2 separate regions of the Homo sapiens genome follow, and region 1 is linked to region 2. Evidence: promoter capture Hi-C in human tissues and cell types (Jung and others, 2019). All regions are on one chromosome and are shown on one strand. The core of a region is centred on a gene start or on the middle of the fragment in contact, and the rest is flanking DNA. Distances in the headings are between cores, read along the strand shown. Region 1 overlaps DSC2 (desmocollin 2). Region 2 holds the start of DSC3 (desmocollin 3).

The links. Contacts are between HindIII fragments. The study calls those that stand out against the background at their distance.
Region 1: a fragment that was not itself captured here is called in contact with the fragment with the promoter of DSC3 in region 2 in 2 of the 25 tissues and cell types used here (H1 embryonic stem cells and mesenchymal stem cells).

What each region holds. Positions count from the first base shown.
Region 1 is chr18:31,073,849-31,081,407 of GRCh38, reverse strand. It overlaps DSC2 (desmocollin 2), which reads left to right. Exons shown (of 16, transcript NM_024422.6): 10 at 1,056-1,312; 11 at 1,419-1,561; 12 at 6,501-6,725. Among named protein-coding and RNA genes, the nearest start is that of DSCAS, 24 kb to the left of the region's middle. The HindIII fragment of the contact is 4,053 bases long and covers 1,815-5,867 here.
Region 2 is chr18:31,040,272-31,047,080 of GRCh38, reverse strand. It overlaps DSC3 (desmocollin 3), which reads left to right and starts at 4,339. Exons shown (of 16, transcript NM_001941.5): 1 at 4,339-4,489. The coding sequence starts at 4,421. It overlaps LOC124904345 (a long non-coding RNA gene), which reads right to left and starts at 5,548. Exons shown (of 2, transcript XR_007066445.1): 1 at 5,247-5,548; 2 at 1,855-4,639. The HindIII fragment of the contact is 2,576 bases long and covers 3,148-5,723 here.

The DNA of each region.
Region 1 (7,559 bases), core at 2,592-5,091, 35 kb before region 2:
AGTCCAAGACCTGAAAAAATTTCTGTCTTCTAGGGCATGGTTTCACTAATTCTCATTACAACTACATATCAGGCAAGATAAAATAAAACCTTTTATTAAATATGTTCCCGTCTTTAAGACAGGAACTGGAATGGAAGACACACATAAAAAAAGAAAATATGATGCCCATAAGCTTTGTATTTTCTTGTCTTGCTCCTCTTAAAAGCATTTTAAAAAAATTTACCCATTTTTTTCTCTTCCTCATACCAGGTACAAATAATTTTATTCATCTTAGGAGGGTAAGACAAGCTGTCCTAAAATTTATTTTGTAGTAAATAACTATTGTTTATAGTATGAATCCCCTAAAGGAGTATCTCATGTATTAATATCCAAGAACCCTCATTAAATACTCTCTGAAATCTTCATCAATACCTGTTATACTACTTATCTTAAATTTGCAGTTGAAGAACAATTTTCTGTCCTTTTTTTTTTCCAGCTTTACCCAAGTACTGAATCAGTGGGAGAACTCCTCTGTCTCCACCACCACTGGGTTTCTGGGTGTATTAGTCTGTTCTCACATTGTTATAAAGAACTACCTGAGACTGGATAGTTTATAAACAAAAGAGGTTTAACTGACTCGCAGTTCCACAGGCTGTGTAGGAGGCATGACTAGGTAGGCCTCAGGAAACTTATAATCATGGCGGAAGGCAAAGGGGAAGCAAGCCCATCTTCACATGGCAACAGGAGAGACAGAGCAAAGGGGGATGTGCTACACACTTTTGAACAACCAGATCTTGTGAGAACTCACTCACTATCATGAGCAGTGGGGAAATCCACCCCCATGATCCAATCACCTTCCCTCAGGTCCCTCCCCCAACATTGGGAATTACAATTTGACATGAGATGTGGGTGGCGACACAGAGCCAAACCATATCACTGGATATATGTTTCATATTCTCGTGGTTATTCCCAACATGACACTTAACATATTTCCAAATTTAACATTATATATACTCGTTAGCATTGCCAAATATTAAATGAGTTCATCTGATTTTTCAATACATTTGCTTTCGTAGCCTTTGAATTATGAAGAAAAGCAACAGATGATCTTGCAAATTGGTGTAGTTAATGAAGCTCCATTTTCCAGAGAGGCTAGTCCAAGATCAGCCATGAGCACAGCAACAGTTACTGTTAATGTAGAAGATCAGGATGAGGGCCCTGAGTGTAACCCTCCAATACAGACTGTTCGCATGAAAGAAAATGCAGAAGTGGGAACAACAAGCAATGGATATAAAGCATATGACCCAGAAACAAGAAGTAGCAGTGGCATAAGGTACTTACCATTCTATTTTAGTTTTAAAATATATAGCTTATTTTGTTACGTTATTATAATTTAGCATATGATAAATTTTATTATTTTAATTCATCATTACCAACAGGTATAAGAAATTAACTGATCCAACAGGGTGGGTCACCATTGATGAAAATACAGGATCAATCAAAGTTTTCAGAAGCCTGGATAGAGAGGCAGAGACCATCAAAAATGGCATATATAATATTACAGTCCTTGCATCAGACCAAGGTAAGAATTTGTCTTTAAGCCAGCTACATACTTCCTTGGCTACATACATCTTCAGTGTTTAAGCCAACAGTATACATTTTAAAGCTGGATACATGCACTCTGTTTTCATATCTCTTGATAATATAAAGTAAGAGGTTTACTATAATTTATTAACTCATGTCTGCTTTCTAATAGCCTTCTCAGTTTTAGATGTAATTATAAAATAATTTACTCTTAGAAACACTTGAGACCATAATTTATTAAAGTTAAAATTATTAAAAATTGAGAAAATTATTTTAGTAAAACTTGTTTCAGCTGGGTGTGGTGGCTCATGCCTGTAATCCCAGCACTTTGGGAGGCTAAGGCTGGAGGATCACTTGAGGTCATGAGTTCGAGACCAGCCTGGCCAACATGGTGAAATCCCGTCTCTACCAAAAATATTAAAAATTAGCTGGGTGTAGTGGCATGCACCTGTAATCCGAGCTACTCGGGAGGCTGAGGCAGGAGAATTGCTTGAACCCAGGAGGTGGAGGTTGCAGTTAGCCAAGATCGCGCCACTGCACTCTAGCCTGGGCGACAGAGTAAGACTCTGTCTCAAAACAAAAACAAAAACAAAAACAAAACAAAAACAAAAACAAAACTTGTTTCAGTTTATCTACTTATTTCGCTTAAAGTGTTCACTTTGTAGGAAAGTGAGAACATACTTACATAGTGCAGTCCTGGAAAACATACTTACACAGTGCAGTCCTGGAAAACAGCTCTAACTTTTTACAGGAAGCTAACAATATACTTGGGGGTTAGAATTCTGATTAAAGACATTATATAAAAATAAATCATGGTATATTTATGATCATGGTAAATAAATAGTATATTATAAAATTAGAGAGACAAACACTATGAATTCATATAATCATATAAAATGTAAAATTATGTTCTGTGCATTCTATAAAATTGAGAGAAATATGAGTATGATGATTATTTATGAGACGCGTTTGGTGCATAAAATATAATTTCTATAACATGAATTTGAACTTTATGTCTTTGTAAAATAAATATGCTAAATATAACAAACAAATTATTATACTATAACTTGCAAAATTAGAATTTAGAAGTGATTTTGGAAGATGATTTATGTATTCCAGTTCTCTGTAAATTAATGAGAAATGACTCAGTTTGTTAAATTGCTGAAGTTGTAATCATTATTGATTTGTCTTTAACTAATTAAAGACTGTCCTTTAAGGCCTCAGATTCTCATGTCTTTTTGCCAAGAAATACTTGTTGGTCAAAGGCAAATGAAAAGAAAAAAAAAACATGAAACTCAACGGCACTTGGAAATAGTTTATTGACAGTTGAGATAAAAATTGCTGTCTGAAATTAGAAATTTTGCCTATAATTTTATTCTACATTCTCGTCTGTTGCAGAGGAGTTTAAGTGATTGAGAGATCAAATATTTGTTATGGAATTGAGATGGGGCACTGCTTATCATCATTGTGATATAGAATAAATGTGTAATGAGGCTGTTCGCATTCATTTCTTTTGAAGAGGGTGGGAGTCATTGTGTTACTCTGTGTGAGAGAACTGTGAATCAGTAATTCCACATGTGTTTACTTTGTGAATTGAATGAAATGAGATTATACAAAAGTGTGTCATTTTTTGAAAAACCTTTTTCTAAAATCTATACTGGCTAATTTCATTTGGGTTCTCCCTGCCACTCCCTAATGGAAACCTCTCCTCCCTCATGGATACTGCTGTCTTGGGCTGGTGCTCACTTCCTGCCTTCCTACATCTCCGCAGCAATTGCTTCCTCTTTTTAAAACTCTCTCTCAAGGCTTCTATGTCTAAACTTGCCCACACATTCCTGCATGCTTTCTGGTCTTAACTGCCTTCCCCTCTCCTAAACATATATATTTCTTAAGCTTTAAATTCAATTTATCTTTTCTTCTTAACTTCTTAATCTAAATTGTGTGGGCAGCTTTACCCAGAAATCACCTCTATCTAGTTGAGCTTGAGATTAATGTTTCTATTGTATTATTCCAGCTGTTAGAATGGGGTTACTTGCAACTATTTTAAAACATTTGACTGAAGAGCATCATGCACATAAAGCATGAAACCATGGATAGTGCACCTCATGTGACTTCATATTTGGAATTAGCCTTTGTCCATGTAGAATTATATTATTACTAGAAGATGAGCATTTTATGCTGACATTCCAATGAATAAAACAGTATGTATAACTCATCAGCATATGAAAAACAGCTATGAAACACAGTGGATTAGATATCTGAGGTCTTAAATGTTCTTCTATGACAGTATTAATCACAATGTGCAAAAAAAGATTGGAGTTTAATCAGTGAGCAACTGTAAACATCTACTGGAAGGAAATTGAAGCATTTATCCCAGTTGTAGAAGAGCAAGCACTATAGAGTTCAGTTTTTAAAGATAGCACAATTAACCAGATTCAATAGGTAAGGCATGTGCTCTCAATTGTGTGTGTGGACTCAAAGGGAAACAAATGTTCAAGACAACCAGCAGTCCCAATTTTCAGAGAGAGCAAGGTAACACCACATAGCATGAGAACAGGAGAAGTTGAGGGACAGAAATTATTCTGCTCTAATGAATAGAAACATATGCCAGATACATGAAATATATATTATCCACCTGCTTCCTTTTTCTAATGTAAATACTCTTTTTCAAAGTTGTCCAAAAATGGAAGGTAGTTGCGTTGTTTCCTGCTTCTCATTGTTTTCTCTCCTAGCTCTTTTTTCTTCTTGCTGAAGTACATCCTTTACTATATTTTTTTCAATTGTGGAATGTGAATTTTAAACTCTCTCAGTTTTGTTGTTCTGAAAAATATTTTAATATTGGCCTCATACTTAAGTGACACTTTGACTTGGTTTAAAATTCTGAGTCAACAGCTTCTTTCCCATGGCACTGTGCAGCTATTAACCCATTATCTTCTGGTATCTCTTCTTGCTGATGCTTCTTGTTCTGTCGATTAACGATTGTCCTTTTGTAGTTAATATATTTAGGTAGCTTTTATAGTACCCTAAATTGAGTTCTACAGTGTTAGTACAATGTGTATGCCGTGGATTTTTTTATATTTGTCTAGTTCTGCAGTCAGAAAATACTTTCAATCTGAAAAGCCATGTTTTTCTTTAATTCTGGAGTATTCTCAGCTATTAATCTCTTTAACTATTGCTTCTCTGCCATTCTGTCTATTCTCTTTTTTAGAATCCCTGGTAGGTAAATGTTGCTGTTTATTTTCTACTGGAATTTGAGCTGTAATTTCATTCTTGTTTAATTGGTTACCCCTCTTTATGTCTTTGAAGATTCTAAACATACCTGTTTCAGAGACGTCTTGGATAGAATGAATTAATCTTTTGACTGGTGCTTTTGTTGGTTTTCCTTCTTAGTGTTAATCTTGATTATTTGGGAATTTTAGTTTGCAGGCTTATATTAAATGAGAGGTGTTTGCTTTGCTTTCTGTTTTTGTTTTTTCCCTCTCTCCCACTTTGCCCATATTAACTACTAGTCTTGTAGTTGCCTTCACCTGCTCTTTCTCTGTGGCCCACGGTTTAGAACCAGTTCTTAACTTGGTGGCCTAGTGCTCCTGACCCATGATGACGCTGGCTCTATCACGAGTCTAGTTGCTGTGCTGCAGGTGCTCTGGCTGAGGTTGTGACTTCAGGGATGTGCTCGGAGATCTTCCCGAGCTTGGCAGCTTCATATAAGACACAGCCCCAGGCAGTGGATGGCACAGGGTTTTTAAATTCTGTTTTCCACCTGTAATGTCAAAAGCCTTCTTTTTAAACAGAAAGAATGAATGATTTAGAGACAGAACTCCTGGGTTTGTGTTCAGTTTCAGACTTCACAACTGCATTACTAATCTGTGGCGTGGGTCCATGGCTGTTTCATCTTTGAATCCCCCAGATTTTCCAGTGCAGTGCTTTATATAAAGTCGTCATCCTGTAAGTTTCTTTCTTTCTTTTCTTTTCTTTTCTTTCTTTTTTTCGTTTTGAGATGGAGTTTCACTTTTGTTGTCCAGGCTGGAGTGCAATGGTGTGATCTCCGCTCACTGCAACCTCCGCCTCCCGGGTTCAAGCGATTCTCTTGCCTCAACCTCCCGAGTAGCTGATATTATAGGCATGTGCCACCATGCCTGGCTAATTTTGTATTTTTAGTAGAGATAGGCTTTCTCCATGTTGGTCAGGCTGGTCTCGAACTCCTGACCTCAGGTGATCTGCCCACCTCGGCTTCCCAAAGTGCTGGGATTACAGGCGTGAGCCACTGTGCCCCGTCTATCCTGTAAGTTTCTATTGAATATACAGATAGATGAATTACTTAGGCTACAACCCACAGTGATTATTTCAGTTTTCAAGTAATTTTCTACTCCTGGAGTCTTCTGCCCTTTGAATATTCCCATGTACTATTTTTGTTACAATCTTTCAAATATGTAACTTCAGTTTCTTTGCTCCAAAACCTAAGTGCTACCTATTTATCCAACAAACTCTAAGCTCCCTAGTCTGGCTTTCAAAGACCCTTAGCTCCTGCTTCCATGTCAGTTTCTACCTGTCTACCTTCCCTGTCATTGTCTCCAGATCACGGGTGTGTATAACGTGCGTTTCCATCTCCTTGAATTTCCTTGTGCTTTTAAATATACCAGAAGTGTCCTCATTCATACTCTCTTCCTTCCTCTTCTCACAAATCAGCCAAAACTTGCCTCTAATAATAATTTAGCGAATGAATAAACACATCTTAATAGCAGTCATTGTTTGTACAACCCATATGAAAGTAATACTATTTTTCTTGTAACATTCCCTGAGGACATAGCTTGTGACTGCTTGTCATTGTAACTTCTACATTATAGGTGCTTAATAAATATTTTTCAATGTGTTCAGTGCATACTTTTGTGGTGAAAACTCAAAACATAGAAAAACTATTTTTATTTTCATTTTTCTAGGAGGGAGAACATGTACGGGGACACTGGGCATTATACTTCAAGACGTGAATGATAACAGCCCATTCATACCTAAAAAGACAGTGATCATCTGCAAACCCACCATGTCATCTGCGGAGATTGTTGCGGTTGATCCTGATGAGCCTATCCATGGCCCACCCTTTGACTTTAGTCTGGAGAGTTCTACTTCAGAAGTACAGAGAATGTGGAGACTGAAAGCAATTAATGGTATATATTTTTGAAAATTGCTTTGTCCTTTTCAACATCAGGATGTCTGCGATACTTTTTTTTTTTTGTATGAAATAGGAGAAAATTCACCATGTGGGAAACACCAATGAAAGTTTCTCAGTTTTTGTGTGTTGGGAGTAGGTCTCTCTAGTGTGTCTCTAATCCTATGCCGAGATTCCCTTAGGTGTGTTGTGAATTCTCCCTCCTACTCCAAACACACACACACACACACACACACACACACACACACACACACACACATTTTTTCTCTTTCTCTCTTTCTCTCTCTTAGACTTGGTCTAATGCAGTCATTTCCTAACTTGTGTACCTCTCACTGGCATAGATTTCTTTATAGTTTCCTGGGTCATAAGGGAGTCCTCATTTGTTACTGGTTGGCTCTCCAGAAAGCAGACCCTGAGGCAGGGCATCTCAAGCAGAATGATGACTAAGGAATTTGCTTGGGATCAGTAGCTTTGAAAGGAGGAGAAGTAGGATTGGGCAAAAAGAGAAGTCAAGCTGCAGCACAAGCCAAATGACAACCTCAGTGAACCCCAGGGGGAGTCTGAGCTAAATGGGCCTTCAGAGTGGTCCTGAATCGATCCCCTATTCTCTCTTATTGTTCCATCAGTGTATGTGGGCTGCCCATGGCAAAAAGGCACAATCCCGGAAGGTGCTGATGGCCTCCCAAGCAGCTGGGATGCAAGTCCTTCTTTGAAAAGGGATCAGATATACACCACAGTGTCCACCACGTTATCTCTCCTCTCTGCCACTGTATTGACTTCTGACTATTTCATGTCTATTGTATTCTCCTTGGGATTCTCCCCTAACTCGGTT
Region 2 (6,809 bases), core at 3,090-5,589:
CAGATGCATAGAGTGAGTTCCTGGAGACATGTGAACATACAGGAGAAACTGTAGTCTCATCCAGTGGAAAGAGATTTTTCACACTAGAGGAAATCAAAGTGAAGAATTATGTGATGATTCTGAGATGAGGTGGACAAAAAGTTCACCCTGTATCAGGGCTTTGTTACATGGCTTTAGTTTAGTTGCTATAAGAAGTTATCACTCACACAATAGGGTTTTGTCTTTTGTGTGGAAATTACCATTCCTTCCAGCCAGTGGGAAGTTACTGGAAGATTGCTCCTCCCTCCTTAAAAGGACTGGTTGAAGAAGAGGATATTTGTAAAGGAGTCTGAAGATTTTAGTGGAGGAAGAGTAACCCCATTGTAAGAGATCTTGACTCATTAATTAACAAGGAGATACTGGAAGGGAACTTTTCTGAGCTTGGCACACCCTATTTGGATTAAACTATTGTAATAGTGTTACTTAGACTGGATAATGCTGAATTTGAGAAATGTACAAATGTCCGACTTTTGAATGATTGTTGCCAAGGTTATAGTGAAAGGTCACATTTCTGTGGATGGGCGTGAGCTTTCTCCTGAGAGGAAGGGATAGTCCTACTGTCAGTCATTCTGGGGAGATATGAATCCTAGGATGAGAAGTGAGGACGTGAGGAGACCCACAGCAGAACAGGGGGAAGGGGAAATGTCCTTGGAGGCCAAGGGTCATTTGGATCTAGAGTTGAGGTCCTCATTGCTGTGTGGAGTAGCATTCTCATTGGATTGAAATTAGCACCAAGTGCTAATTAGGTGCTTGCCATGGGTAAATAGGTGAGAAGGAGGCACATAGGGATTCTGGGACGGCTCTGGTAGTGGGCAGCAATGCGATATTTATAATTGACTTTTGACTTAAACCTTCTGTTATCCTCAAGGCCCCAGCAGTCTTTTGAAATGACCAAAATGTGGTGGCTGTTCTCAATAGTGCTCTGGGAAATCTGCAGAACCTCTAGTCACACTGCGGCTATTTATCCTAAATAATATTCCAAACATGCTTCTGAGTTCATGTCCCATGGCGGAACTCATTTTTGTGCCACAGGTGTAAACAAATCTTTTACTTGTTTTTAATTCAAGCTTTTTTTTTCATAAATTCCTCTGCTCTTTCTCGTAAGTTTGTCTCAAACATTGTACAGTTGTCCTGGCGGTATTTCGTAGGAGTGTTTGAGGAAACCTACAGTTGCCATGTCACCGTCCAGGTAAGCCACTGAGATGAGTAGGTGTGTTAGACTAGCACCTGTTGGTGCTGAGTTGTGCAAGGCAGCCTGGCTCGTGGGCCAGAGGTCAGGTCCCACCTCCTAAGACTAGTTAGCTCTTCCGTAGTCAGAGATTTCTCATAGGTCCAGAGTAAGAGTACTCTTCTTCATTATCTTGTTTGCTTTCTGCTGAAAATGTTGCAATTCACCTGAATTTCTGAAGTTTTGTTCTTTAGTCTAAAGTCAATTCCCATTTTTGATCCTTTGTTATTGCTGCTCTTACCCTTCAAACTAAGAACATAACAAGGGAAAATAATAAATTATTTTCCCATTTTGGCTCATTATCCTTTTAGCAGTGACTTCCAACTGACTTTGCAGTTTGAGGGATAGGGTATTAAGATAAAGACAGTTCAGAAAACTCTTTATGCTTTATGATACCTCATGATGATTTAAAATTAATTTTATAATAGAAAGCATCCAGTTCTAACTATATCTAAACTGAAGCTCATATTTGAAAAAAAATCAACAAACTATTTTAAATCATAATTTATATGGGAAAATATAAGCAAAAAATATAAGCAATTTAATTTATCCTCAAGTCATATTTATGTTGTAAAGATTCTTCTTTATATGATAAAAATGCATTGCTTTTTATTAGGACTTAGATTAATATACTCATGGTGGACAAACAGGAAATTCCAAAATCATTACTAATACTACATTCAGTTATTAATGTTCGTATTGCACCTAGAATTTTGCAATACAAGTTAAAAATATCCATAATATGTTTTCTTCGAGTTTTTCTAAAGCAGATTCCTACAACTTTTATTTTGCGGAAGCTAAAAATGGAAGCTCACAGCAATTGTCATATTAGTCAGTAGGCTTAACAATAAATATCCTCTATTACACAGCACAGTCAAAATAATCAGGGGATAGCAATTTTAGAGTTTTAGTCTTTCAAAGGACAGTCCTAACCAGGCCAGACTCTCATAAATCTGAAGATAGAGTTGAAATCATAGAAAAACTAAGAATAGTTAGAATAAAGACAAACACTTCAAAGTCTTTCATTCCCTAGGTATTAAAGAAAGCCATATTACAGCACAAATGGGTTCATATGTGCAAACTCACCAAAAGTGACAATTTTGTAACAGTAGTTACTAACCCTTTTCACACATTGAATGGATGGTTCTCCATTTCTGTCAGGATGAAATTAAATTCCTCAGCATGGTTTGTCATGAACCATCTTTCTAACCGAATTCCCAGCCATTGCATGTAACCATTCTGAACCAACCCCTTTCTGCTTTCTTACCCTGGGGCACTCTCACAAGGCTCTCCAGAGCTTCTCATGTCCTGTTGATGTTGTGTTATCTTGAAGCATTCTCCTACCCTTTCCCTTTTCTTTGCTGGGCTTATCGCAACATTTTGCTTCTTCAAAGCTTTCTTCAGCTAAGTTAGATCCTCTCCTCTAAAATGCCTTAACACCTCAACCCTTCACTCTAACAGTGAATTCAAAGTGGTGAGGGAGGGAGATTGGTGCTAGCCATCTCCTTTACTCATCTAAGTTCAAGAAAACCATTCTACTTGAGTTTCTGAGGGCTGGGGGGCTGGAAGTGACTTTGAGAAGCTTTCTCTGAGGTCATGCTGGAGGCACGTGGAGGATGGGAGGTGAAAACCCTGGAGTGGAGAGAAGTTTGGAGAACTTTCTCTGAGACTGGAAGAGCTCTTACATACAGAGACCTCCACTGACGGGTGCCTGGGAGATTCACACTGGGAAGCTCAACTTAGAGTGTCTGAGCCCTTAAAGCTGAGCCTCATGAGTTTCAGGGAAGCCCCAGACTTCAGGGAATACATGGCTTAGACGACGAGGAGTCTATTAGACTTGAGCCAGAGTGAGATGAATGAAGGTCATAACACCCTTTCATGATTAATTGGCTGTCTGAAATTCCCGACCTTGCAACTTTTGAATGGACTTCGAGGAGTAGCATCTCATGTCTGAGAGGGATTTCCTCCTGAATCCAGTAGATGGGAACTCGGGGAACTTAAAATTCAGTTTAGGGAGAAATAAGAGGATGTCCCCCTGGTGTTACAAACGACATCTCTATTAAAAAGTGTAGCCTACTGGGCTAGGAATGATTGTCTTTCGTCCCTTTCTGACTTTGAATTATTTCCGACAGGAACTAGATTTTCTGCATTTCCTTTCTTCCATGCCCTCACACAAAGCTTGGCCGACTTCGGGCCCTGATAAATAGTCGTTGCATGATGTAGAATCTGTAAGCCTCGTTTTAGAAGGTTTTGTGTGGTAGATATTCCTTTGACCACCTGAAAAATTTCATTTTGGTACCAGTAAGTAGTAAACCAATAATTCACATCTAAGAACAAAGTCGTTTTTAGAAGGTTCATATGAGTCCCCCAAACTGACAGTTAATAGAGCGCTGAGTGTAATCACTCATATTTTGGGTGCGTAAAAATGGTTAGATTAGAATTTCTTAAATTTGGTTTTAATTTCTGACATGCCAAAAACTGTTTATCATGCCATCTGGGATAAATTCCTTCTGTCGTGTATTTTGTCATGTTAGTCAAATCCGGAGAGAATACAGTACATGTATTTTGCTTTAATCTGAAAACATTGGCAGAATTTGTTCAGACGTCGAAGGGGAGATCCGCTGATCCAATGACAAGGGTGTTCCTGGCATCCAGCAGAGCCCGTGTCGAGGCAGGGATCCCTGCGGGCGGATTGGGGTTCTGCATTGAGATGCACCGCGCAGCGCCGGCGATGGGGCCGCCCTGGGACGATCTGGGCTGCCAGGGCCTCTCTGCGGGCCGGGCGGGGCGGCAGCGCCGCGGGGCAGCCGAGGGGCGTGGGAGAACTGGCAGAGGGTGCGCCAGAGACCGCTTTCCCGAGCGCGAACGCCCGGGTGGCTGCTGGGGAGCAGAGGGGCAGGCTCGGGCAGCTCCTCAGCCGCGCCGGCGATGATAAAACTTGAGAAATAACAAGGAGTGGCCTCTCCGCGTCCTCTGGGTCCAATCCGGTTTCAGAAGTGAAGTTGCTCCCGGGCAGGCAAGCCTGAGAGAGGCCAAATACACTTAAAAACAAGCAGCGGCGAGAAAAGCACCTCCCGCGCCCTGCACCTCGGCAGGTCTCGCTCTCGGCACCCTCCCGGCGCCCGCGTTCTCCTGGCCCTGCCCGGCATCCCGATGGCCGCCGCTGGGCCCCGGCGCTCCGTGCGCGGAGCCGTCTGCCTGCATCTGCTGCTGACCCTCGTGGTAAGCCAGATCTCGCCGGATAGGGCTGGGGTGGGGACGGGGGTGGATCCGCCCTGGACGCTGCACGGAGCTGGGGACAAAGCGGGCCGAAACGTGACAACCGCGGCTCAGATCAATGCTGCGGGTCTGGTAGCAGCCCCAAGTTCGGGCCTGCAGGAGTGAGGAGAGAAAACGTGTGTTTGCGGGTCGACTCTGGACTGAGCTTTTTGTTTTGAGACAAGGTGTTCGATTGTTGGAATTCTGAGTCGCGCTCAGGCTTCGCTGCGCTCTGGCGGGCGCCGTCGCGGGTTGGGCAGGGGGTTGGGATTCACGCTTCTCCCCAGGTGGTGGAGCTGGTGGTGATGGTGGTTGGAGGGCGCCTTTGGGTGGAGAGGATCCCTGAGAGCTCAAAGCACAGACTTGAAAAGGGATTTAGGGGCTGCCCCCTCCCCAGCTCTGGGTCGCAGTTGACCCGGATTGGTTCGTTAGTGAGTGGAGCCGGGGCTGTGTCCCTGGGTCCCTTGGTGGGGCTGCCCCTGAGAAGTGGGTTTCTCGGTATCTCCCCTAAAGGGTATTCAGAAGCTCACCCAAGCGGTCCACCCCCGCCAGCCACCCAGCTGGGGGCGGGATGTGCCGGGGGCGCGAAAGTGTGGGAAGACCGGGCCAGAATGGGGGTTGGGGTCGTGTTGTGTTTTGGGGATGCTGCCGAGGTGTGGAGGCGGGTAGAGGGTGACAGTGGTGGGGGATGATGGATGCGGTGGGGTTGCGTCGTACTTACTCCGGCTCCGGGGAGGACTGCGCGGCCGGAGCACAGCCTGGGGTTTCGAGTCTACGGAAACCTGCCGCCCAGGACGAAATCCTCTAGGAGAGGAAGTTAGAGACGATGCTCTGAGAACACGGGAGACTTGAAGTGTTCGGAACTCTGGCGGCGCGGTTACACGCGAAGCTTCAGGCTTCAACAGAGTTTCATTCCGCACGCCCAGAAAGGAGCCGCGGACCCGCGACTTACCCGCATCCATGGATGCGCATGGGGTCCGATGGGAGCGAGGTCTATACCCGCGTCGGCAGTGAGCCGAGTCTGGTCTCGCGGATTCTTACTGCTTCCTGGCCCTCCACCCTGGCAAGTGGGAGTGGGTCCAAGGGTTGTCCTCCCTTAAGGTCAGCGAGGTATGAATATGGGATTGGTAGTTATGATCTACGATATGTTTATGGAGAAGGAATTGGACAAATAAGCGCATCCATTTGCCCGGGAACTGTTCCAACAAAGTATCTGAGCTTATGAAGTGACTACAAATGGAAACGGCTTAGAGAATGTGTTCTTTTGTAATATATTTAAAAGCATTTTCAGCTTTTCAGTTTACAAGCATGCATTTGGGGTTTTGTGTTTCCTTTGCGAAGGGATTGAGGATGGGGAACGAAACTACGGGTGCTGCTCTCAGAATTTCTCGCATTCGCTCGAGGCTCCCAGAGGCCATGGAAGACCAGGAGCTTTCCCGGCAAGGCATGGGTGGGGGTGTCGAGCTGTGGCAAGGAAGAAGGTGCGCGTAAATCTAAACGGAGGAAGCTTCAGCTTTGATCTAGCACATACTCGTTTAAGATTTTTTTTTTTTAAAATAATTCCGTTGAGTTTAGGTTAAATGCTGTATCTGGAGACTTAAATACCGGAAAGTGCACAGAAAATGACTATTTCATCTGCAATTGTCAGTTTACAAACACTTGCAATTTCGGACCGGATGGGTAAATTAACACTTCTCTTGACCATCTCATGTATGTATTTCCTTCCTTTTGACTCATACGACTCTCAACTTTTCAATATAATATTAATGACACGGCATTTTAGAAACATTTTTCATTTTATAGAGACTTTAATGGATATCTTTAAACCATTACTTATCTTTAAAACATTGTTTGTTCTAAGGAGACAGCTTTTCAAAGCAAGTCTTTAACAAGAATCTGAGACTTGTTAAATTTTAGTCTTCCCAGTAAGCAGCCCAACAGGTTGAGGGAATTTTCCCATTCTGCATTTTTCCTGTATCTCCTTCCCACCGTGTGCCCCACCACACTCTGAAGTGTAAATACAGTTTCTAATAATCACACGCACAAAGAAAAAAATGACAGGGAGATACTAAAAAAAGAAGTATATCAGAGCATCTCACTCACTATTGTAAGTTTTTGATTGCCTCAGAAAGTGTTTTTTCCTCTTAATGTAACCAGAATTGTTAGGGATGGTGGAAACTAATTTACATGAGATCAGTTGTCTTCTGCCTGTTACAAATAATAAGATTCTTTTAAAAATATGTGTTAATACTGTTATCAAATCCACTTTAAGATTATGTTATCT